Regions from separate parts of the Homo sapiens genome. Here regions 2, 3, 4, 5 and 6 are each linked to region 1. Evidence: promoter capture Hi-C in 16 types of primary human blood cells and fetal thymus (Javierre and others, 2016). All regions are on one chromosome and are shown on one strand. Each heading gives the region's core, a stretch centred on a gene start or on the middle of the fragment in contact. The rest is flanking DNA. Distances are from core to core; before and after follow the strand shown.

The links. The method cuts DNA at HindIII sites, captures the fragments that hold promoters and counts their contacts. A CHiCAGO score of 5 or more calls a contact.
Region 2: a fragment that was not itself captured here is called in contact with the fragment with the promoter of IGSF22-AS1 in region 1 in 1 of 17 cell types (activated CD4 T cells); the score reaches 5.4 in activated CD4 T cells.
Region 3: a fragment that was not itself captured here is called in contact with the fragment with the promoter of IGSF22-AS1 in region 1 in 6 of 17 cell types (total B cells, naive B cells, total CD4 T cells and 3 more); the score reaches 9.5 in total B cells.
Region 4: a contact is called between a fragment that was not itself captured here and the fragment with the promoter of IGSF22-AS1 in region 1, in 1 of 17 cell types (naive B cells). The highest score is 5.5, in naive B cells.
Region 5: a fragment that was not itself captured here is called in contact with the fragment with the promoter of IGSF22-AS1 in region 1 in 5 of 17 cell types (total CD8 T cells, total CD4 T cells, non-activated CD4 T cells and 2 more); the score reaches 7.0 in total CD8 T cells.
Region 6: a fragment that was not itself captured here is called in contact with the fragment with the promoter of IGSF22-AS1 in region 1 in 9 of 17 cell types (total B cells, total CD4 T cells, total CD8 T cells and 6 more); the score reaches 8.4 in total B cells.

What each region holds. Positions count from the first base shown.
Region 1 is chr11:18,704,939-18,709,234 of GRCh38, reverse strand. It overlaps IGSF22-AS1 (IGSF22 antisense RNA 1), which reads right to left and starts at 2,754. Exons shown (of 3, transcript NR_186353.1): 1 at 2,086-2,754; 2 at 1,842-1,957. It overlaps IGSF22 (immunoglobulin superfamily member 22), which reads left to right. Exons shown (of 23, transcript NM_173588.4): 19 at 940-1,028; 20 at 1,239-1,431; 21 at 2,022-2,321; 22 at 3,089-3,418. The HindIII fragment of the contact is 1,081 bases long and covers 1,689-2,769 here.
Region 2 is chr11:18,371,454-18,375,822 of GRCh38, reverse strand. No RefSeq gene overlaps it. Among named protein-coding and RNA genes, the nearest start is that of MIR3159, 14 kb to the left of the region's middle. The HindIII fragment of the contact is 1,184 bases long and covers 947-2,130 here.
Region 3 is chr11:18,279,511-18,283,771 of GRCh38, reverse strand. HPS5 (HPS5 biogenesis of lysosomal organelles complex 2 subunit 2) reads left to right here. Exons shown (of 23, transcript NM_181507.2): 22 at 1,552-1,822; 23 at 3,830-4,261. The coding sequence ends at 3,890. Among named protein-coding and RNA genes, the nearest start is that of SAA1, 15 kb to the right of the region's middle. RefSeq lists enhancers at 1,020-1,079, 1,120-1,179. The HindIII fragment of the contact is 671 bases long and covers 915-1,585 here.
Region 4 is chr11:18,260,879-18,265,101 of GRCh38, reverse strand. It overlaps the pseudogene ST13P5. Among named protein-coding and RNA genes, the nearest start is that of SAA1, 3.3 kb to the left of the region's middle. The HindIII fragment of the contact is 2,389 bases long and covers 1,556-3,944 here.
Region 5 is chr11:18,301,604-18,305,388 of GRCh38, reverse strand. All of the region lies in intron 8 of HPS5 (HPS5 biogenesis of lysosomal organelles complex 2 subunit 2), which reads left to right. Among named protein-coding and RNA genes, the nearest start is that of HPS5, 19 kb to the left of the region's middle. The HindIII fragment of the contact is 3,514 bases long and covers 363-3,785 here.
Region 6 is chr11:18,240,581-18,244,427 of GRCh38, reverse strand. The region is part of intron 3 of SAA2-SAA4 (SAA2-SAA4 readthrough); the gene reads left to right. It also overlaps a transcript of SAA2 not described here. Among named protein-coding and RNA genes, the nearest start is that of SAA4, 5.7 kb to the right of the region's middle. RefSeq lists enhancers at 172-221, 352-646 and a silencer at 332-626. The HindIII fragment of the contact is 1,216 bases long and covers 1,134-2,349 here.

The DNA of each region.
Region 1 (4,296 bases), core at 1,505-4,004:
TCAGGGGCACCCCTACTAAATCAATCATTGTGTGCCAAATAGCATCTACTGTGTGTCAAGGTGTAACCACCCAATGGGTTCTTCTTGCGCATTGTACACGCAAAACCAGTTCACTGAGACCACAGCATTGCAACAAAGAGTTTAATGGACACAAGGCCAGCCATGCTGTATGGGAGACAGAGTTATTACCCAAATCAATTCCCCGAAAATTCAAAGTCCAGGGAGCCTGCTTCTGACTGGGGCCTCAGGACTTGTGGGGTGGAGGGAGAGCAGGTCCAGGTGGAGCCATCAGTCGTCAGAAATGCAAAAACCTGAAAAGACATCTCAACCACCAATCTTAGGCTCTACAATAGTGATGTTATTTGCAGGAGCAGCTGGGGAGTTGCAAATCTTGTGATCTCTGGAATAATGGCTGGTAATCTTTTATGTCTACACCTTAGCAGAATTCAGGCTCCTCACATCCTCCTAACCTGGTGGCCTTTCATTAGCTTCGCAAAGGTGATTTAGTTTGGGGGAAGACTGTTATCATCTAAGCTATAAACTAAATGTCTCTCCCAACATTAGCTTGGTCTGAAACCAGGAATGATTAAGGGCAGTTTGGAGGGTAAAGGCAAGATGGGGGTTGGTTAGATCAGATCTCGTTCACTGTCATAATTTTCTCGCTGTTATAATTGTTGCAATGGCAATTTCAAAAGGAGGTGTTAGGGTTATAGAAACAAGACACAAGGACTTGCCTTCCAGGGTCTTGCGTACTAGTAGAAGGAGACAGATGAGAAAACAAATAAATGCTTCACAGGGTTGCAGGGCAGCTAGATGTCTGTATGGCCTGTAGTGGGGGCATAAAGGAGGAGAGGTTGGGAAGGCTTTGATGAGGAGGCTTAAAGCAGAGTCTTCTTGAAAGACAGATCCATGCCTCCACCTCTGTCTCCTCCATCTCAGCTGCACCCAAGTTTGACCTCAGTGCCCGGCTGAAGAGTCACATGGTGGTTCGCGCTGGGACAGCCCTCTGCATCCATGCAGCCTTCTCTGTGAGTTGTCCCTGACCCTGACCTCCATACACTGTCCACATAACCAAGATGGCTATTGTAGCCATCACAGTCTCTGACTCTGACTCTGACTCTGCCCCTCACCAGACCCCTAGTGCGACAGCCTGGCAGGAAACTCCTCGACAATGGAGGAAGGCCTGCCCCCAAATATCATCTGTGTGACCAGTTGTGCCATCTCCTGTCACTACTCAGGGCTCACCACCACCTGACGTGATCTGGCAGAAAGATGGCGTTCCCACCAAGGGCCGAGAGACAATTACCAAGAGCAAAAACCACTCCCAGTTCCTCATTAATAGCACCAAGCGCTCTGACTCAGGGGTGTACCGAATCTTGCTTCAGAATGAGTTTGGAGAAGCACGCTATGACATCCATGTGCGCGTGGCAGGTATGGAGAGAAGGCAGAGGCCTCCAAGACCCATCCCTGTACACTCTCCAAAGCACAGCTCCCCAGTGCCGCTTGAGTTCCTACCACAGGAAAGTCATGCCTTAGGGCCATGAAGATTTCTTTGACACCACAGAGCAAGACTTTATCATACAGAGTATGGTCGGCAGAGAGAGTAGAAATGGGTGGAGGGGCAGGAGGGACAAATGGAGATGAATCCATTAAAAATTGGGGTGACTGCTTAAAGAGAGCTGGAAGCTTTAAAATAAAGCTCTAAACCCCCAAGGAAGGAATGGATTCATTTTTACTGAACAGTAACTACATGCCAGTCTCTTTACCCACTATTTCTACGAAATAGTCATTGTCAGCTCTATTTTGCAATTGAGGAAAGAAGTCTCAGATAAGTAACTTACCCCAGGTCACGAGGCTAGTAAATGGCAGAGCAGACTTCAGAAATAGTTTTCCGACTCCAAGACACCAGCTGCCTGAGACTTGCCCCATCTTATCTTCCATCGGACTTGGCAGATGGCTGGGGTGGGGACATAATACTTCAGGTGCCCCAAGGTCGCTGACAGATCTTCCAACTCTTCCAGATTTCCCTCGGCCCCCCACAAACCTACGGTTGTTTGAGGAAGTCCCCAACACAGTGACTCTGACCTGGAACCACAGCCCAGATGTGCAGGAGGACGGTGAGGCTCACTACATCATCATGAAGCGGGATGCAAGCACAGCCACCTGGTACACGGCAGCCGAGCGTGTCTTCAGCAACAAGTACACAGTGACGGGGCTGCTCCCAGGCAGGAAGTACTACTTCAGAGTGGTGGCTCGGAATGAAATCGGTGACAGTGAGCCACTTGACTCCAGGGACACCTGGCTCATCAATAAGGACCAGAGTGAGTCTGGGACTTGCAGTTAGGGTTAAGTCTGGGTGCCCTGATGGTGGGGATGACATAAGGGTCCCAAAGGGTACCCAAGAGGCAAGATAAAATCTGAAAACCATTGAGATAGAACGGTTAATATCTGGGACGCTGCGGAGAGAAGGAAATATTGGCTTTCTTCGGGGTACTTAGGGGTGAGACTAAAGTGGAGGTGGGGAGGTACCTTTGGGGGCAGAGAGGACGGTGGAGGGGCTGCGGAGGGACATAGAGCGCAAACGCGTTCTGCTCTGAGGGGAGGGTCTAACGGGGCTGAGAACAGGGGAGGGCTCTAGGGAGCCGGGAGGATGTCTGGGATCCCTGGAGGCTAGGGGTTAAGGGTGGGGGCCGCGTCGGGAAACTCGAACTGAGGAGCTAAAGGGATAAGAGGGGAGACTGTGGTCGCTGATATGACGTAGGGGAAGCTTGGAGGCGGAGTTAAAGGCTGGGAATAACCGGGTCCAGGAAGCTGGCGCTGGAATGACATCTCGGCCCCAGGGGTGTGGGAAAGCGTGGTTTGGGTGGCAGAACCCTGGAGTGGCTGGGGACGGGGCTGGGGGGTCGGGGGAGGCCTGGGGGCGGGTGGGGAGCCCTTAAGAACCAGTGTAACATTGGGCCCCCAGAGTTGGTGGCGCTGGGAATGTGGCCTAGGTCCTCGGGGTTCCGTGTAAGCTGAACTGTAAGACGTGGGTGGTGGGTGGGGGCCTTGGGGCGCCCTCACGGCCTGCCCCGCCCCGCCCGCGCAGTCCAGGACCTGAGCGCCAAGCTCAAGCCCTACGAGAAGAAGGACTGGCGCCACGCGCCGCGCTTCGTGACGCCCCTCAAGCCACACACGGTGCTCCGCGGCCAGGACTGCACCATGACCTGCGCCTTCCTTGGGAACCCGCGGCCCACAGTGACCCTCTACAAGGGCGACGTCAACATCACGGCCAACTCCAAGTTCTGGTACAACTCCACCAGCGGCGTGTGCACCCTCGTCATCCCCACCTGCACGCTCAAGGACAGCGGCGATTACAGCGTGCTGGTGGAGAACGAGCTGGGCAAGGACCGCAGCAGCTGCACGCTCACCGTCTATGGTGAGGGCGCCGCGGGGTCCGGCCTCGAGGAGGGGGAGAGGCGCAAAAGGCTGGTCTTGTGGGCCATTGGTCAACTATTTGGCTGGCACCGTTTTTTAATCTGACTGCCAACAGGTGGTGCAAACATTCTTAATTGGCCACAGTTCTTACCACTCTCCCATCCTTTCGATGTCATTTGTTATATGCCTGGCCCCTGCAGACATGAGAGTTCTCAATCCCTAGATAAGATGTGGTTTGCAACTCTTGGTGAGCCTAGACCTGCCTTCAGAAAAAAGATACTGGTGATCAGGACTCAACCAGACTCACCAATCACGATCTCTCTGGCACGGTTCTGGAAATAACCTATATGTTTACAAAATTTTGCGGGTGATTCTGATGTGCAATAAAAATTAAAACTGGTCTAGGATAAGGACCGGTGGGGGGCACAAACAAGGGAAGGAGCGAAGGGAACCCTCCCTTTTGTACATGCATGCCATGTTTCTACTCATGTGTGCACACATAGGGGGAAGCATTTTATTCCTTCCCAGTCTACTGTCTTCATAGCCACACAGCTAGCAGCATGAACTCTAAATGCAAAGCTGGCCTGCCTTGCTTTCTGTTGCTTAAATTTCCCCCAGCTTTCCTCTCATGGTAAAATCCCAAACCAAGAAGGTTTCCCCCTCCCCCACCTCTCATCTCACCTTCTGCTACTCCTGAACCTTCCATGACACTCCATTGCTGTGGTCTCCATGGTTACAGACCTTTTTTATCCAGTTATAGATACCTTTCTTTGGGGAAAGGACCTTGTCCTGTTGCTCTGTCTCTCGAGTGCTTAGCTAAGTGTCTGGCACTGAGACAATATCTCCAGAGAGGCTGCTGAGCTGTGTAAAAGAACTAGG
Region 2 (4,369 bases), core at 289-2,788, 330 kb after region 1:
AACTTCTTCCCATTCCCTCATCAGGCCTTTGCTTGGTTTCTGGACATGCCGCCCACACCTTTGTAAATTGTCCCTTTAATCTCTTCAAATAACCCAGTTTAAGGGTGCCATTTGTATCCTGCCAGGATCCTGTCTCAACCACTAAACAATATTCACATAATCAAAATGTAAACACTATTAATTATCGAAAAACTGTGAAATAACTATATCAGGAGCCTGGAGTCGAGGGGAAAGGAGTAATGGTATTATAAGAACACTAAATCTTCAACTACCATAATAGAAAGTCAGTAGAAAATAACAAAATTAATAAGAATGGTATACTGTCAGCTAAAAGAGTGGAAAGTAATTGATTCAGTGAAGAGAGAATAAAGGGTAGGGGGCAGTGAGTGGGATAGTGGACGTGGTATTTTGAAATGTGCCTTCTAGTGCTTTTCACTTTTTAAATTATGAGCACATAAAATGTTGCTAAAAAAAACAAAATTAATTTTTGAAAAGTCTAAAGCCAAGAGAAAAAAACACAGTAATGGCCCTTTGAATTCTTTTGAGGGCCTAGTGCATAATGGATGCTTAGCGGTACCAACAGCAGAATTCAAGCCTCCCTAGTGACTTCAGATCCAGTAATCCATCTCCTTCACTGCACTTTTGGAGAATAAAGCAGTCTCAGCCTCAGAGCCATCTGTGCTTGTCAGTGTGAGGCCTGATAGAAATAAAATAGCTCTCCTGCTCCCAATTATTTATATCAGGTAGAAGAAAAATTTCCAGCCTGCAAGATCAGGTTAGGGAGAGAGTGAGGAGGTTAGCGAGAGAGTGAGGAGGGTAGGGAGAGAGAGGTCAGTAGATGCACAGAATTTGCATTCAAGAGCTGAATTTGAATCTTAGCTCTCCAATCCCGAGTTGGATGCAGGGGCTTTTCATCTCTCCAAGCCTGTTTATTCTTAAGTAAGCTTCACGAGGGCATTTTGCCCATCATCTAGGACAGTGATTTGTTTATTTGTCACCCAGGCTGGAGTGCAGTGGTGCGATCACAGCTCACTGCAACCTCCGCCTCCTGGATTCAAGCTATTCTCGTGCCTCAGCCTCCCGAGTAGCTGGGATTACATGTGTGCACCACCACGCCCAGCTTATTTTTGTATTTTTAGTAGAGACAGGGTTTTGCCATGTTGGCCAGGCTGGTCTCAAACTCCTGACCTCAAGTGATCCACCTGCCTTGGCCTCCCAAAGTGCTGGAATTACAGGCATGAGCCACTGTGCCTGGCCAGGACAATGCTTTTTAATAACCAGAGGCTTTCTATTTTTACTTTTGACACAGGGTCTCTGTTGTCCACCTTACAGTGCATGATCATGGCTCACTGCAGCCTCAACTTCCCGGGTCAAGTGATCCTACCACCTCAGCCTCTGGAGAAGCTGGGACTACAGGCATGTGCCACCACACCTGGCTAATTTTTATTTTTTGTAGAGACAGGGGTCTCCCCATATTGCCCAGGTTGGTCTCGAACTCCTGGTTTCAAGTGATCCGTATGCCTTGGCCTCCCAAAGAGCTGGGATTACAGGCATAAAGCCACCACACCTGACCAATAAATTGAGACTTTTATTTATTTATTTATTTGTTTATTTATTTTTGAGATGGAGTCTCACTCTGTTGCCCAGGCTGGACTGCAGTGGTGTGATCTCGGTTCACTGCAATGTCTGCCTCCTGGGTTCAAGCAATTCTCCTGCGTCAGCCTCCTGAGTAGCTAGGATTACAGGCATGAGCCATCATGCCCAGCTAATTTTTGTATTTTTAGTAGAGATGGGGTTTCACCATGTTGGCCAGGCTGGTCCTGAACTCCTGACCTCAGGTGATCCGCCTGCCTTGGCCTCCCAAAGTGCTGATTACAGGTGTGAGCCATTGTACCCAGTCAATTTGAGACTTTATAAGTAGAAGGCTGTATACTGATGCACAGTAGCTTAATAATTATTGAATGAATCTTGAGGATGAAATAAGAATGGTCATATAGCATGGCAAATATTTGGCAAACAGATCTAATAGATAGTAGATAGTAGTAAACTAACTAATAAGAGTTTCTTTCCCTTGATCTCTACCTCAGCTTTTTACCAATGTTGTTATATGGCAGCCTAAGTCAATAAGCTTTTTTTTTCCCCTCGCTCTGTCACCCAGGCTGGAGTGCAGTGGCGCAATCTCGGCTCACTGCAAGCTCCACCTCCTGGGTTCACGCCATTCTCCTGCCTCAGCCTCCCGAGTAGCTGGGACTACAGGCGCCCGCCACCATGCCCTGCTAATTTTTTTTTTTAGTAGAGACGGGGTTTCACTGTGTAAGCCAGGATGGTCTCGGTCTCCTGACCTCGTGATCCGCCAGCCTCAGCCTCCCAAAGTGCTGGGATTACAGGCGTGAGCCACTGCGCCTGGCCCTAAGTCAATAAGCTTTGAACTGAAGCCTGGTAATGGTAAGTAATAATAATAGAGTCATGAGCCTCATAATGTTTTGGTCAACAATGGACTGCATATACAAGGGTGGTCCTGTAAGGTTATAATACTGTACCATACTTTTACTGTATCTTTCCTATGTTTAGATACACAAATACTCTTGTGTTACTATTTCTTCACACTATTCTGTATAGTAACATGCTGTACAGGTTTATAGCTTCAAATCAATAGGCTGTACCACATAGCCTCTATGTTTTGTAGGCTATACCATCCAGGAGGTATAGCCTACAACATGTTGGGAGGCCGAGGCGGGAGGAATAAGTATAAGTACAGTCTGTGATGTTCATACAGTAATGAACTCATCTAACGATCCATTTATCAGAACATATCCTCATTGTTAAGTGATATATGACTGTAATAGTAATAAATGATAGAAAGAACATTTATTCTCAGAAAAAAAAAGAAAGAACATTTATTGAACGGTCATTTTGAGCCAGGCACTATTCTATATTAGCTCATTTAACCTTCACGGTAAATCTGTAAGTACTACTATTATGCTCATGTTACAAATTAAGAAACTAAAGTCGGGTCGGGGGGTGGTGGTGGCGGGGGGAAAGAAAGAGACAGAGAAAGAAAGAGGGTGCAGTGGCTCCTGCCTGTAATCCCAGCACTTTGAGAGGCCGAGGCACGCAGATTGCTTGAGCCCAGGAGTCCAAGACTAGTCTGGGCAACATGGCAAGAACTTGTCTCTACAAAAAATACAAAAATTAGCCAGGCATGGTGGCATGTGCCTGTAGTCCTAGCTACTCCAGAGGCTGAGGTGGGAGGATTGCTTGAGTCCGGGAGGTGGAGGCTGCAGTGCTGTGATTGTGCCACTGCACTCCAACCTGGGCCACAGAGTGAGACCTAGTCTCTTAAAAAAAAAAAAAAAAAAAAAAAAGAAGAAAGAAAGAGAAAGAAAAACTGAAGCATGGAGAGATAAGTAATCACACAGCTAGCCAGCTAGTAAATGACAGGGCTGGAATTTGAACCCAGGCAGCTTACCTTACATCTTGAGTGCTTCATCATATAAGTTAGACTTCTCTTAATTTATTCATCTGACAAAGAAAATGGATCGCTGTTGTATTTTTTAAGGAAATTCCTTCTTATCTAAGTTATAATTGTGATATGTAACTGTTACAATGCCAAACCACCATATTTAGGACATGCTAACTGAAACCTGTTAGTGACTTTGTTTTGAAGATAAACCCTTCGCACCTATTGAATCAAGTTTTAAGGTTGCTCTCCTGCTAACTCAGCATACTCTAAATGGCTTTTTCTTTTAACTCAAGTTTGATCCCAACTTCTATTTAAAGAAAAAATTTTAAGCCGGGTGCAGTGGCTTGTACCTGTAATCCCAGCACTTTGAGAGGCTGAGGAGGGAGGACTGCTTGAGCCCAGGAGTTCAAGGTCAGCCTGGTCAACATAGTGAGACCCCATCTCTATGAAAAAAATTCAAAAAATTAACCAGTCATGGTGGTGCGAGCTTGTAGTCCTAGCTACTTGAGAGGCTGAGCTGGGAGGATCACTTGAGCCCAGGAGTTGGAGGCTGCAGTGAGCTATGATCATGTGGCTGCACTACAGCCTGGGTGACAGTCTGAGACCCTGTCTCAAAAAGAAAAAAAAAAAGAGCTCAAAATTTGGAGAATGCAGGTCACCACAAAAAAGTGTCTACTAATCAATCTAGTAAAGATGATCTAAGAAAATCAAATACGTACAGGTTTTGTGGGGAAAATGAAGGCACAGAAGAAAGCACTTTTACTTTTCTTTGAGGGAATTTTCCTCCATTTAGGTTTCTAAGGTTAAACAATAAAAACAAGAAGGTGCTGCAGTCTTTCACTGCGTGACTCAGGGGAAGCCTTATCAACATTCATTACAGCAAACACTTGCATAGCACTTGTGGTG
Region 3 (4,261 bases), core at 1-2,500, 420 kb after region 1:
TCTTGGTTGTCAATTTTTAGAAGTTACTCCAGACCTCTCAACAAAAAAATTTGGTGAACCTTTCAATGATCATATATTTAATATGTGATTCCACTTAGTTGTCACATTTGTGGAGTTTTTGTTTTTGTTTTTGTTTTTTACCTATAGCCCTTGATATGTTATGAAATCACAATTAAGAATAAACTATAGGCAACTTTTCTATTTCATGAGTGCCTACTATGTGTTAGGCACTATACTGTGTGCTTTCCATATGTTGTTTTAAATGAGATAACAAACTCTGGGGATAGTTACTATTATTTCCACTTTCCAGATAACTGAGGTACAGAAGGGACAGTTAATTGGCCCAAAGTCACACAGCTACTAATTGTAAATGCTGGAGCTGGGGTTCAGACCAAGGACTTCCTCCAAAATTTGTGCTTAGGCTCTTTTTTTTTTTTTTTTTTAATTTCCCATTAATTAAAGATGATTCTGGCCAGGCGCGGTGGCTCACGCTTGTAATTCCAGCACTTTCAGAGGCCGAGGTGGGCAGATCACCTGAGGTCGGGAGTTTGAGACCAGCCTGGCCAACATGGTGAAACCCCATCTCTACTAAAAATACAAAAATTAACTGGGCATGGTGGCTTATGCTTGTAATCCCAGCTACTTGAGAGGCTGAGGCAGGAGAATTGCTTGAACCTGGGAGGTGGAGGTTGCAGTGAGCTGAGATCGCACCACTGCACTCCAGCTTGGGCAACAGAGCAAGACTTGGTCTCAAAACAAAAAGGAAAAGAAAAATTCCTTGAATTCGTCAAGTTCTTTCCTGTGTCACATTGTCTTCCATGTTTCCTTTATCAGAAATGCAGGCCCCTTATTTCTGATGGCTCCTACTCCAAGTTTTCACATTATGTGGGCCCCATGCATATGTCCTCTAAGCTTGTCTCATCTTTTAGCTTTCTGCTTCAATGTCACTTCCTCATAGAGCCCTTCTCAGATCTTCCAGGCAGAATCAGCCATTCTCTCTGATGCTTCCTTGTTCTTTTTTTTCATAGTGCTTAGCATACTTTATAAGTATATACTTACGTGTTTAAGTTTTGTCTCCTATACTAGACTGTAGGCTCCACAAGAGTACAGGGATTGTGTCTCTTCTGTTCATCATTACATATCCAGTGCTTAGCATAGGATATGCCCTGGGTAATTACTGAGTGGTTGAAAGAATTCTGAAGCTGCCCAGGTGTGGTAGCTCATGCCTGTAATCCCAGCACTTTGGGAGGCTGCGGTGGGAGGCTTGCTTGAGCTCAGGAGTTTAAGACCAGCCTGGGCAACATGGTAGTGAGACCCTGTCTCTCTTTAAAAAAAAAAAAGAAAAAAATTAAAGTTAATTTTGTGGCTTCTCTTTCTCATGAACAATTTATACAACAAATTTTCAGAAAACAACTTGTGTTAGGGTGATGAGATTGTGTTCTTGAATATTTTTACGTTTTGGCATTAAACATTTTCACAGTTTTGACCATCTCCTGTATCCAGTCAGTGTGCTAAGAGTGGTCAAACTGACACTTCCCTGTGTGTGTTTAGGTTGGATCCCAGAGACCGTGGAGGAATGGAAGCTTCTCCTTCATCTCATACAGAGCAAGAGCACGAGGCCAGCCCCCCAGGAGTCACTAAATGGGAGCCTCAGTGATGGGCCTTCCCCCATCAATGTGGAGAATGTGGCACTTCTGTTAGCTAAGGCCATGGGCCCAGATCGGGCTTGGTCACTGCTACAGGAATGTGGTCTGGCCCTTGAGTTGTCAGAGAAGTTTACCAGAACCTGCGATATCCTGAGGATTGCTGAGAAAAGGCAGAGGTAATATCAGTTTGTCCTACCCTCTGCATAGTGCTTGGAGAAGGTAGAAGGCCACAGACTTTCAGATGTAGATGTGGAGATCATTTAGTCCCGACCCATCACTAACATGAGGAGACTGAGACTGATGTGGTAATTAAGGGAAGAGGCTAAAGTAATATTTCATTCACAGCCATGACCAAGATGCTGTTCAGATTAACCTGAATAATCTGATGTGTCCTTGATTCTTTAAAAATATTACTGGTACCAGGCTGGTCGTGGTGGTTCACGCCTGTAATCCTTGCACTTTGTGAGGCCGAGGTGGGCGGATCATGAGGTCAAGAGATTGAGACCATCCTGGCAACATGGTGAAACCCCATCTCTACTAAAAAAAAAAAGTACAAAAATTAGCTGGGTGTGGTGGCACGTGCCTGTAGTCCCAGCTACTTGGGAGGCTGAGGCAGGAGAATCGCTTGAACTCGGAAGGTGGAGGTTGCAGTGAGCCAAGAACATGACACTGTACTCTAGCCTGGTGACAGAGCGAGACTCCATCTCAAAAACAAAAAAATTACTGGTACCTGGCTGGGTACGGTGGCTTATGCCTGTAATCCCAGTACTTGGGGAGGCTGAGGCAGGTGGATAACCTGAGGTCAGGAGTTCGAGACCAGCCTAACCAATATGGTGAAACCCTGTCTCTACTAAAAAAAAAAAAAAAAAATGCAAAAAAATTAACTGGACATGGTGGCAGACACTTGTAATTCCCAGCTACTCGGGAAGCTGAGGCAGGAGAATCGCTTGAACTCAGCAGGCAGAGATTGCAGTGAGCCAAGATCACGCCATTGCACTCCACCCTGGGCAACAAGAGCAAAACTCTGAAAAAAAAAAAAAAAATTACTGGTACCAGATACCTAATGTCTCAGTAATTTTTTTTTGTGGTATAATACACATAAAATTTATCATCTTAACAATTTAAAAATATTCAGCTCAGTGGTATTAAGTTATTCATATTGTTTTGCATCCAGTCTCTAGAACTTTTTCATTTTGCAAAACTGAAACTCCACACCCATTAAACAGCAACTTACTTCCTCTACCTAGCCCCTGGCAACCACAGTTCTACTTTCTGTTTTTATTAATTTTACTATTCTACATACCTCATCTCAGTGGAATTAATACATTTGTCGTTTTGTGACCAGCCTGTTTTCACTGAGCATAGCATCCTAAAGGTTTATCCATGTTGTAGCATGTGTCAGGATTTCCTTTCTACTTAAGGCTGAATAATATTCCGTTGTATATATATGCCACCTTTTGTTTATCCATTCATCTGTTGACAGACACTTGAATTGCTTCCACTTTCTGGCTATTGTGAATAACGCTGCTATGAATATGAGTATACAAATATGTCTTCCAGACACTGCTTTCAGTTCTTTCGGGTATATACCTGAAAGTGGAATTCTGGAATCATATGGTAATTCTATTTTTAATTTTTTGAGGAACCACCATACTGTTCTGTAGAGACTGCACCATTTTACTTTCCTGCCAGCAGTGCACAAGAGTTCCAATTTCTCCATGTGCTAGCCCCACACTTGTCATTTTCTGTTGTTGTTTTTTGTTAAACAGTAGCTATCCCAGTGGGTGTCAGGTACTATATATCTCATTGTGGTTTTGATTTGCATTTTTCTAATGATTAGAGATGTTGAGCATTTTTTCATATGCTTATTGACCATTTATATAATTGTCTTTGGAGAAATAGCTATTCAAGTCCTTTGCCCATGTTGAATCAGGTTGGGTGTTTTCGTTGTTGTTGCTGTAAGAGTTCTCTGATATTCTGGATATTAACCTCTTATCAGATACATGATTTGCAAATATTTTCTTCCATTCTGTAGGTTGCCTTTTCACTCTGTGCATTGTGTCTTTTAATGCACAGAATCAGTCAACTTTTTGAATCCTCTGAAACTCTGTAGTTTTTAAGTTTTCTGTGAAGAATGAACAATGACAACTAAATTTGCTTGTTTCTTTTCTTTGGGATTTCAGGGCCTTGATACAAAGCATGCTTGAAAAATGCGATCGGTTTCTCTGGTCCCAGCAGGCCTAGTGGGAGAAGATTCAGCAGGATGTCATGACATTTTGAGAAAAACTAAATCATGCTCCTGAACCTTCTGAACGCATTTGTTATTGAAGGAAAGACACCACCCCCAAATCCTGCCATCTTATTGGGGCTACTTTTGTCAGTGTCTGTACCCTTGGCATCGGCATCTGTGACTCTTTATCCATGACCTCAGTGTTTCTTAACCAAAGTTGTACTCAGCATTTCTTAACCAAAGTTGAATTTTGAAAAGAGTCAGTCCTTGTTTGCTGGAATTAGAATGTTAATGTCCTAGTATTATTCCGAACTACAGTATTAACTGCTTGTTGCTAGTGGATTAGACAGATTCTTTTCTTACTGTGGCTTCCATGTTGGGAGCA
Region 4 (4,223 bases), core at 1,501-4,000, 440 kb after region 1:
CTTTCTTCCTCTTTCCCTCCCTCCCTTCCCTCCCTCCCTCCTTCCTTCCTTCTTTTCTTCCTCCCTTCTTCTCTTCCTCCCTTCCTTCCTCTCTCTTTCTCCTTCCTTCCTCTCTCTTTCTCCTTCCTTCCTTCCTCTCTCTTTCTTTCCTCTTTTCTTTTCTTTCTTTCAGAATGCTATGAATATAGGCCTCAGGATAACTACTTTTTAAAGGAAATGACAATCTTGTTGGGAAAGAGAAAACAGTAAGTCTTAAAAACACTCCTTGGCATACTCCTCACCTGATCCTCCTCTCCTCCCCTCCCCTCCCCTCCCCTCCCCTCCCCTCTCTCCTCCCCTCTCCCCTCCCCTCTCCCTTCCCCTCCCCTCCCCTCCCCTGCCCTCCCCTCCCCTCCTCTCTTCTCCTCTCCTCTCAAGACAGGGTCTTGCTCTGTTGCCTGAGCTGGAGTGCAGTGGTGCAATCATGGCTCACTGCAGCCTCAGCCTCCCAGGTTTAAGTGATCCTTGCATCTCAACCTCCCAAGTAGCTGGGACTGCAGTTGTTTGCCAATATGTTTGAGTAATTTTTAAAATTTTTAGTACAGTGGGAGTTTCACCATGTTGCCCAGGCTGGTCTCAAATTCCTAACCTGCAGTCCTCCTGCCTTGGCCTCCCAAAGTGCTGAGATTATAGGCATGAGCTACCATGCCCAGCCAGAAGTTCATATCTGATTGCTTCTATTTTTCAGTGAAATAGGAAGCAAAGTTGTCAACTGAGAAGAGAATGAACGAGGAGTTGTGGGAAGTTTCAGAAGAGAAGAGAAGTAGAAAGCAGACATCTAGGAAAGGAAGAATGTGACTGAACTTGAGAAAGGTAGTGGATTGTATGGTAGCTCTTGGTCAACGACCATGAATTTAAAGTGAGACTAGTCATAGCAGTCGTGCTTTTTTTCTGATCACATTCAGCTGCCAAGGTTCAGACTTTTAGCAAGTGGCAAATTGAATATCACTGTGCAATAAATGCTTGTTGAGTTGCATGACTGAATACATGCGAAGGTCAAAGGAGGAGGATTTATTTAAAGATGAGGGAGGGTTACAGGGCACAGGGAGAATGTTAACAGAGAGAGTGACTGAGGGTAAAAGATAGGGCATAACATAGACTTCAACAACCAAGGGGCCACAGGGCCACGGGGACAAGGTTGCCCAGAGTGTAGCAGGAGCAGGTCTTCCTCTGAGACAGGAAGGAGAGGAACGATAACAAGGAAGATGCATTTTGAGATGAAGGACAGAGATCCTGAGGGAAACCAGCAGGCCCTTTTCTTTACCAGTCATAGAACTCATCGCTCTCCACCTGTTTGCATTTCTGAGTTTGACCCAGAGTGCACAAAACACAGGGATAGGAACCTTGTCAGGCTTATTGACAGATAACTGTTGTCACTTTAACACCAAACACAGCACCTCACCTGTAGCAGGTTCTTAGTCACTTTTATTGATTGAAGGAGTCAATGCATGAGTGAAGTAGGAGAAGTCATCTCCTATAGATTGACAGGTGGAAGGTTAAGAAGAATGGAAAAGCTTTGGAACAATGATGTCATTTAGAGATGAACATGGACTTTTTTTTTTTATGTTTGCCTCGCACTAATAACTTTTATTTCACTCAAATTAGAGCAGTAATCTTCCATAAATAAGTATATTCCCTGCCCAATAATTTAAGGAAAAATCCACAATGATTAGTAAAGAAAAATATAAGAATTAACAGACCCTTTAAATTTGTTTTAAATATTTGAAGATTTAAAAAGTGTTTAAAGTTTGTAATTCCTAGTAGGAAAACATTATCTGAATGAATACCCTAATGGCAAACCACTGTAAAATGCTTCAGCTGCATTTGGGGGAGAGGGGTAGGGATTATCTTCAAAGCACCCCAGCTCTCTTGATGAGAAGGTCAGAGGTACGTTGGTTTGTATTATTGCGACATCCATAAGGTGATCTAGGTTGCTTTTCCTTCAGCAGGGCTTTATTTATCAGAAGGGCATTATGCTTGACCTCCAAATTTGGCTGACAATTTACTGATGAGATTCATAACCTTTGGGTTGCTCTGGTATTTTGACATATTTGCTGGGTTCTGAGCCACATCCTGGAAGGCCACCATAACTTCTGGATCCTGCATGGCTGCAAGAGCCTCTGGATCACTAAGAATTTCATTGAGTCCAGGCATTCCGGCCATTCCAGGCATGTCCCCTCCCATTCCAGGCATTCCTCCGGGAAAATTACCAGGCATTCCACCAGGAAAGCCACCTGGAAAAGGGCCATAGTGAGCTCCTGACTGTCGTCTGGCTTCTTCCTCCCTCTGGGCTCTCTCCTGCTCTTCTTGAGCCTTCTTAACTCGTTCTATTCTTTCTTTGATCTCTCGCTCTTCATGTTTTCGCTCATACTTTCTCCAATGTTCTGCAATTTTCTGTGCCCTAGGTTGAACTTCTTTCAGCATTGCACTAGCATCTTCATCATAATCCAATTTACAGGCAAAGGCAAGATCATGGGCTGCTTCTTCCCAGTGGCCTAGAAGTCTGTGTGCTTTCCCCCGCCACTTGTAAGGCTGAGCTGAATCAGGATTTATTTCAATGGCTCTGTCACAGTCTTGGATGGCAGCATTTGGCTTCTGTAATTTGACGAAGACACTGGCCCTCTTTGCATACAAAATGGCCAAGCGAGGATTCAGCTTGATGGCATCTGTGAATAAGTCAATGGCTTTCTGGAGTTCACCATCATTTAGGACTTCAATAGCAGCCACTTTTTTATCATTTGCCTGATCCATCATCTCCTCCGTTATCTCCACATTTTCATCTCCCATTTCTTGAGGAGCATCAGTGTCTGGTTCAATCACACCTTCTTTATCAATTTCTAGATCACTTTCCTCAGTTGATGGTTCGTCTGCCTTTAAGTCTTCCTCCACCTTCTTACTATCAGGTTTTTCTTCCTTGGTATTTTCTTCTGATTTAGCCTTCTGAGTAGCAGGTGGTACTTTACCTCCCATGCTCTCCACCCACTCTCTCAGGAAGCGCATTTCCTCGGTGTGCAGAACGCTCGGATCCTGCTTACACATTTTCACAAAGGCCCGAAGCTCGTTCACTTTGCAGGGGTCCATGGTAGGGAGGTGGTGGGTGAAGCTGGGGGCTGCGGCCCAGTTCCAGGCCCAGGTGCTGGCTCGGCATGACCGCGCAGAAGGGGGCGGCTGCCGCGAGTGAACATGGACATTGTTAATATGCAATAAAATCTCAGCCTACTTGAAATGTTTACATTAATTGTCAAAAAACATATTCAGAAGGCAAACCCTTATCATCTCTCCGCTGCTCCCAGAGAGATGTTATTAGGCATCACCTTCTGGGTTATGATGGCTTCTTAACTGGCTTCCACATTTCCCCCTTTGCCGCCAACTAGTCTCTTTTCAGTATAGCAGCCAGACTGTTACAACACAAGACAACTTCTATCACTCTCCATTCAAAACTCTCCGGAGGATTCCACTTCCACTCATAGTTGAAGTCAAAGCCCTTATAATGGTTTTCAAACTTTACTCAAACTGTCCTAACTCCTTCCTCTCGTACCTCATCATCCAATTCTCTCCTCCTGCTCATTTTGCTCTGGCCACACTGGTCTCCAAACCCCCAGGCACATCTTACCCTAGGGGCCTCGGATTAGCTGTTCCTTTCCTCTGGAACATTCTTTTCCCAGATATTTGCATATCAGGGCTTTGAGGGGGCCTTGATCCGGGAATGCAGGATACTGGAAGGTTCAACAATACAGTTATTGTCAATAAGAGTATTGGCAGTGAATGTGTTGGAAAGAGGGCCGTAAATGAACTGTGAAAATTTTCCATGAAGATGGGAGAGGACTGGAGAGTTTTGTCAATGAATACAATAAAGAGGTACTTTGTCTCCAAACATCACTAAGCAGATTGTCTACACAGAAGCTTCTAGTGGGTATTTCTAGGCTGGGCACGGTGGCTCACACCTGTAATCCCAACACTTTTGGGGGCGGAGGCGGAGGATGGGTTAAGGTCAGGAGTTTGAGACCAGCCCGAGCAACATAGTGAGACTCCATTTCTACAAAAAATTAACAATTAGCTGGGCATGGTGGCACACTCCTGTTGTCCTCACTACTTGGGAGGCTGAGGCAGGAAGATCACTTGAGCCCAGGAGTTTGAGGTTACAATGAGCTATGATTCCACCATTGCACTCTAGCCTGGCAACA
Region 5 (3,785 bases), core at 870-3,369, 400 kb after region 1:
AAAAGAATACTTAGATTTTTATCTCTGTTTCTTGTTCAGAAGTAGTTTTTTAAGGTTATTTTTGCACTAAATTACTTATAGAAAGTTAGGAAATAATTATGTTACATGAAGTGTTCTGTATCTAAAAGGAATGGAAAGATCCTAGAAATACACTTCTCTTTCCAAGCCAATTGGAGAGTTTATAATTGCCAAGAAACTTCTAACAATTGGAGCTAAGATAGCTCTACTAACCGCCTCATAACCTCTCCTACCTAATGGGATGCTATAATGAAAGCAAGTCCCAGATCAAAATCTGCCACACAGATGTATGTGTTTTTAGCAAGCAGGCACAAAAATAGTTGTAGAACTTGTTCTTGTAAGCTTGGTGAAATTTCAGCTCTCTATCCTATAGGTACTCTGACAAATGCTTGCATGAAAGATCTGCTGGAGGCAGTTTCAGCCATATTCTAATGTCAGAGTTCAGCCAGCCTTCTAGTTGGATTAGGTGCAAAGTCCAGCACAAAGTGCTGCCCTAAAAGTTGTTAAACTGCTGGACCTGCCAATTCTTACACCTTGTTCTGCAAGAGCAAGAGTACCAGTGTATGATTTCCAGCCAATATCTTGAACTCTATTTCATCAATAAAAAATTACTTCTGATATCCCTTAGGCTAGTTAACAAGATCTCTGATGCAAATTCAGCAAATATTGTATGAAGTTGTCATATGGTACACTGGAGTGTGAACACCTGATTCAGTTCTTTGAAAGGCTAACTAACCACTCTTTGTGATTTTTAAAAATAATTGAAGTGTTAACTAATTGCCTCTAAGGGTAAGGATAAAAACCAGTTCATGTATTTGTCATACTTCCTACACTGAAGTATTTAAAAGTGAATTATAAGGCCGGGTGTGGCTCATGCCTGTAATCCCAGCAATTTGGGAGACCGAGGCGGACAGATCTTCTGAGGTCGGGAGTTCAAGACTAGCCTATCAACATGGAGAAACCCCGTCTCTACTAAAAATACAAAAATTAGCCAGGCATAGTGGCATGCTCCTGTAATCCCAGCTAGTAGGGAGGCTGAGGCAGGAGAATCGCTTGAACCTGGAAGGTAGAGGTTGCAGTGAGCCGAGATCGTGCCATTGCACTCCAGCCTGGGCCACAGAGCAAGACTCTGTCTCAAAAAAAAAAAAAAAAAAGTGAATTATAGACATTATAACACTTTAGTAACTCCATAATTCTTCATGAAAGTTACTAGAGAAAGACATTTATTTATTTACCCATAATTAGATAAAGCATATTAAAAACTCTTCCTCCTTTAGCATTCTTCCTTTGTGGCACTTGTCACAGTTTATAATTACATATTAATATAATATTTATACATGTCTTACCCTAAACAGTAAGCTCCATGAGGGCTTTATTTCTGTTTTGTTGACTATTATTTTTTCAATGCTTGGCCTAATGCCTGGCACATGATAGATACTTAATAAATATTTGTTGACTATGATGTGATGTGCGGGGTATTGGGAAGTCCCTTACCCAAGTTTTTTTTTTTTTTTTTAGAGACGGAGTCTTGCTCTGTCACCCACATTGGAGTGCAGTGGTGCGATCTTAGCTCACTGCAGCCTCTGCCTCCCAGGTTCTAGCAATTCTCCTGCCTCAGCCTTCCAAGTAGCTGGGACTCACAGGCGCACGCCACCACGCCTGGCTAATTTTTTGTATTTTAGTAGGGATGGGGTTTCACCATGTTGCCCAGGCTGGTCTCGAACTCCTGAGCTCAGGCAATCCACCTGCATCGGCTTCCCAAAGTACCCAAGAATATGTTTTCTAGTAGTCGGGCCACAATACACTTAGCTCTCCTGGTAGAGTTATTCTTTTGGCTGTAGCTATTTAAAGCTGCTGTTATAGTCCCTACCATGGTAGACAAAAAGCCTTTGATGATCTGGCTCTGCCTATTCCTCAGCTAAAGCAACAATTAACGCCACTTTGAAACTTCTGCTGATTCCTCAAAGAGGCTTACGTTAGACAACCTATTTCTGTGCATGTACTGTTGTCAAACCATATTCATTCCTTTATCATTGCCACTGTCTTACTGTATTATGAGTATGCATCCCAGCATCAGATTGTCAACTCCTTTTCATGGGCAGTGCTAGACACATAGAAAACCCTCAAATGATAGTGAATTCAACAAAGAGTTTTTTCGAAAACATGAAGAGGAGGGCTTCTTTTCATTCCTGTTTGTTTATGTTTTTCATTCGTACACTGTGCCCTATGGGACTTTTACTGTTGCAACCCATAAATCCCAGAGGGGGCATCCTTATGTACTTTGTTTCCTTTCAGGCACATTCCTTTCTGGAACTTCTAAAACAATGCTGTTAGGCTTATGTCCCCATTTATTATCAGTGAAGGGATAAGGGGACAAGGAATGTATAAATTACAAGTATCAGCTTTTATCTAAGTTCCCGTCCTCAGCCCCCCATCTAATCTAGGTTGCTATTCCTAAGGAATTTTCCAAGCTGAATGTCAGGTTCAGTATCAAAATTATGATCCTGTATCTCTTTCTCAGGGATCCTCTGACACCCCCCCCCCCCCCGCTTTTTTTCTCCTTTGACTCTTGAAGGCAGCCTTCTCAATTTTACTTTGGATTCAGATTCTGACCATTTCTTGCATTTTATGACAAAGATTACTTTCCTGTAGGGATAGTGATCTGGTCTTTCATATTGACAAAATGTTTAACACTTACATGAGGGCCCAACTCCTGTTAAAAATCAATTAGTTTCATAGCCACATGGAACCATTTTTAGTACTCTTGGAAACATAAAGGAAAAAGAAATATAGTCCCTGTTCTTCAGAGTATAATTTATTAGAGAGATATGATTTATTTGTCCAAAAAGTTTAACAACAATAAGAAGTAAGAGTTGTGACAGTGCAGTAGATGATTAAGTGCCATATGAGCAGAGTATAAGAAATAGGTTGAGTGCAAGAAATAGGGTGAGTGTTGTGGGCTGTAAGGGAGGATTTCAGAGGGAAGTAGAACTTCTGATCCTTGAGAGGTGGCTAGATTAAGAACATTGTAAGTTGGAGAATGTCCTGAACAGCATTAGGAAGTGGAGATTACCAGTGGTATATAAAAAATAGTAGCAGCCTTGAGAGAATAAATGAAATATATGAGATAAATTTATATGAGTAAGTATAGAAAAAGATGAGGAGAAAAAAATGAGTCCTCCAGACCAGAGGACTGGAGAGAAAGAGAACCAAGAAAATGCAGTGTCCAGGAGCCCCAGGAGGTGAGGTTCAAGAAGCAGAGAACAGTTAGCAGGGTTGGCTTCTGCTTGGGGTTAAGAAAATGGGAAGTGATGAAGGGTTATTGGGTTTGGCAGTTTGGGAATCTGTGACTTTTTGAGAATTCAGTTAAGTGGAATAGTTAGGATTCCAGATAATAGTGAGTAGGTTAGTGAAGATAAGTGGAGGAGGAAGTAGATTCTGTGTTATATAGGAAAAAAGTCCAGGTTTTGGAGCCAGACTATCCTGCATATCCAGTATAAATTCTGACTCGTATACATTTCATGCTGAATGGCCTTTGGTATATTATTTTATTTCTCTGAGCCTTAGCTTTTTCTCTTTTTAATAAGAATAGTATATCTACCTTGACTGGCTTCTACAAAGTTAGGTAATATAGACAGAGCCTTTAATAAAGCTCCTGGCACATCGTTGAGCAGGAGTTGTCAGCTTTTTGTTGCGCACACACAACTAACAACATCAAAATATTACTGTTCTTAAAAGTGTCTCACTAGAGTAATGATTGGCAGTAA
Region 6 (3,847 bases), core at 492-2,991, 460 kb after region 1:
ACATATAAGAACTCCATTGAGGTATTAATGAAACTTGGCAGGAAGCTACCCAGGGTGTAACTTAACTCTGGGAATGCAGCTAGGGTTCCTGTGACAAATTTGGGAAACTGCTTGGGGGCAGGAGATAGGTTATCAAAACCCCTGGGAAGCCAGCTGTGGAAGTGGCAGTGCTCTGGAGTGAACTGTATCTTGCCAAAATGTATATGTTGAAACCCCAACTCACAGCATGGCTGTACTATTTTGTTACAGCAGCCCAAGCTGATTAAAATAAGTGGGCTGCTGGTAAACATCATGGACATCCTACTGAGGTGCCACAGAAATTGTCAGGAAACTGTCTTGGCCTTGGGATGCCACTCAGATCTCTGGGGCAAGTGCCACTGGTTGTCCTGTACAGGAGAAGAGTACTGCAGGAGCTGAAAGGAAGCAAAGCACAAAAGAACAGGAAAAGATGTCTTCATCTCCTGCTTGGCCCTCTAGCGCCCTCTATGGGTGAAGATTAACATCATGCCCAACTGGCAAAGGAGAAATGTTCACAGGGTCCAGCTCCAGCATCACAAATAGGACAAAGGGGTGGGTGTGGAGCTGAAAATAAAGAAACTGATAACTGGCATACCCCTTTTCTCTGAAAAAGGATTGAGGAGGACTCCTAAGGTGAGAAGACTAGTTATAAAATTATATTTACAGAGTAAAGACAAATTTATTTGTCAAGGAGGAAGAAAATGTATGGATATAAAGTAGAACTATTTACAACAGAACTTTCTCATACAGTTCTCATCAAAAGACACTAATAGAAGTGTAGGTATAGGAGGTATAGGAGGTTTGAGTCTGAGTCTCAAAGATGTGCCAATGCCAAAACAAGGCAAGGGCAAGATAAATAAGATGGAGAGAGGCGTGGAAGATTGGCTCATGGGAGCAGACTCAATGCACTGTTGAGATTAGTGTTCAGTCTAGTAAAGTCTGAGTTGACCCCAAGTTGTAAAAAAAGACTGTAATGCTATTATTACAATAGCAATTGTAAATGCTTACAATTAGATTTCTGTCACAAGTACTGAAGTTGTAGATTTTGGGGGGCAGGAGGGAGAGAAAGGGAGGATGAGAGAAAGAATGGCTTTCAAAGTCAAATAAAGCAAGCTTTCAAAGTCTAGTCTTTGTAGATATTCAAAACTTTGCAATCAACATATTATTACTAGAAATAATTAACTGAAGCAACATTTGGATACAGAAATTCATTCATCCGTCTGTAAAGGACCAAATCACTCCCCTTCTTGAAATCTATAATTTGAAAAAAAATTTAATTCAATATAGTCCATAGGTTCAGAGGAAGAAAAAGTATAAAAAAAACAAGAAAAAAATTTTTAAATCGAAATTTGTATCCAAGGAAAAAGGTGCTTGGTTTACCCAGGAATTTATAATTTGTAAAGTCACACCTAATACCTATGCTCTGGCACACCCAAATACCTTTTATTAATTACTTGGTTTTCCTCAGTAAGAATTAACATGCTTCTCTCTGTTAGAAAAGTTTGAGAAAGGGAAATTGCATTGCTCTTTGTTATAGTTGTGTTTTGTTTTGTTTCGTTATTTGAGACAGCATCTCCCTCTTTCATCCAGGCTGAAGTGCCATGGCATGATCATGGCTCACTGCAACCTCGACCTCCCGGGGCTCAAGAGATCCTCCCACTTCAGCCTCTTGAATAACTGGGACTGCAGATGTGCGCCATGACACTTGCCTAATTTTTATATTTTTTGTAGAGATGGGGTTTCGCCGTGTCACCCAGGCTGGTCTTGAACTCCTGGGCTCAAGTGATCTGCCTGCCTCAGCCTCCCAAAGTGCTGGGATTACAGGCATGAGTCACTGAGCCCAGCCTACTGTTATATTTATTTTTGTGTCGGTTTGAGGCTGCCCAGATTCACATTGTTTCTGGGGTCGTCTGTGAGGGTGTTTCCAGAGGAGATTAACATTTGAATTGGACTTAATAAAGTAGATTGCTATTCTCAATGCAACTGGGCATCACCCAATCTGTTGAAGGCTTGAATAGAACAAAAATAGAGGAAGGACAGATTTGCCTCCCTTTTCCCCTGCCTCACTGCTTGAGTTGGACATCTCCTCTCATCTTCTCTTGCCCTCAAATTGGATTTACGTGATCAGTTGCTCTGGTTCTCAGGCCTTTGAACTCAGACTGAATTACACTTTCCTGAGTTTCTAGCTTGCAGAGGGCAGATCGTGGGACTTCTCAGCCCCAATTATCTTGTGAGCCAATTCCTTACAATAAATAAATACATACATACATACACAAATAAATTATTTGTCCTGTGTCTCTCAAGAACCCTGACTAATAGGGTATCCAAGCTTTTCAGTCTTATCTCCTATGACTAATTAATGTGCCTCATGCTACATGCAAATTGAGCTGCTTGTTATTTTTAAACATGTCATTGAATTAGGAATTATTTCAAACGTTCAGAAATGTGCTTCCATGTGTTCATTCAGCATTTATTATTGTTATTTAAAATATTCATTCATTTATTTATTTATAGATTTAGGGGGTACAAGTACAGATTTGTTACACTGATAGATTGCATAATGGTGAAATCTGGGTTCTTAGTGTAACCATCACCCAAGTAGAGTTCATTGTACCTGTCAGGTAATTTCTCAATCCTCGGCCCCCTTCTGCCCTCCATCTTTCTGAGTCTCCAGTGTCCATTATTCCACTTTCTATGTCCATGTGTACACATTATTTAGCTCCCATTTATAAGTGCGAAAATGTGATATTTGACTTTCTGGGTTATTTCACTTAAGATAATGGCCTCTAGTTCTATCTATGTTGCAGCAAAAGATACGATTTCATTCTTTTTAATGGCTGAATAGTATTCTATGGTGTATATATGTGTATACAGACATACACACACACCCCTCCAATCATTCGTTGATTAACCTAAGACACTTAGGTTAATCCCATATTTTTGCTACTGTGAATAATAGTGTTGTGATAAATACATGCATTCAGGTATATTTTTTATATAATGATCTATTTTCCTTTGGGTAGTACCCAGTAATGGGACTGCTGGGTCAAATGGTAGCTCTATTTTTAGTTCTCTGGGAAATCTCCATACTGCTTTCCACAGAGGCTGTACTAATTGACATTCCCATGAGCAGTGTATAAGCATTCCCTTTTCTCCACATCCTCACCAACATCTGTTGTTTTTTTGACATTTTAGTAATAGCCATTCTGATTGTGTGAGATGGTATCTCATTGTGGTTTTAATTTGTGATTAAATTTGTGTTTAAATTTGTGACTCTGATGATTAGTGATGTTGAGCATTTGTTCATATTTTGTTGGCCATTTGTATGTTTTCTTTTGAAAAATACCTGTTCATGTCCTTTGCCCGCTTTTTAATGGGGTTATTTCCTTTTTTCTTGTTGTCTGAGTTCCTTGTAGAATCTTGGTACTTGTCCTTTGTCAGATGAGTAGTTTGCAAATATTTTCTCCCGTTCTTAGGTTGTCTGTTTACTCTGTTGGCTATTTCTTTTGTTGTGCAGAAGTTTTTAGTTTAGTTTAGTCCTGCTTGTGTATATATTTTTTTGCTGCATTTGCTTTTGAGATCTTAGTCATAAATTCTTTGACTAGGTCAATGTTTGGTAGAATTTTCCTAGGTTTTCTTTTAGAATTTTTTGTTTCAGGTCTTACATTTAAGTTGTTAATCCACCTTGAGTATATATATATATGATGAGAGATATAAAATTTCATTCTTCTGCATATGGCTATCCACTTTTATCAGCACCGTTTATTGAATAAGGTATCATTTCCCCACTGTATGTTTTTGTTGACTTTGTCAAAGATCAGTTGGTTAT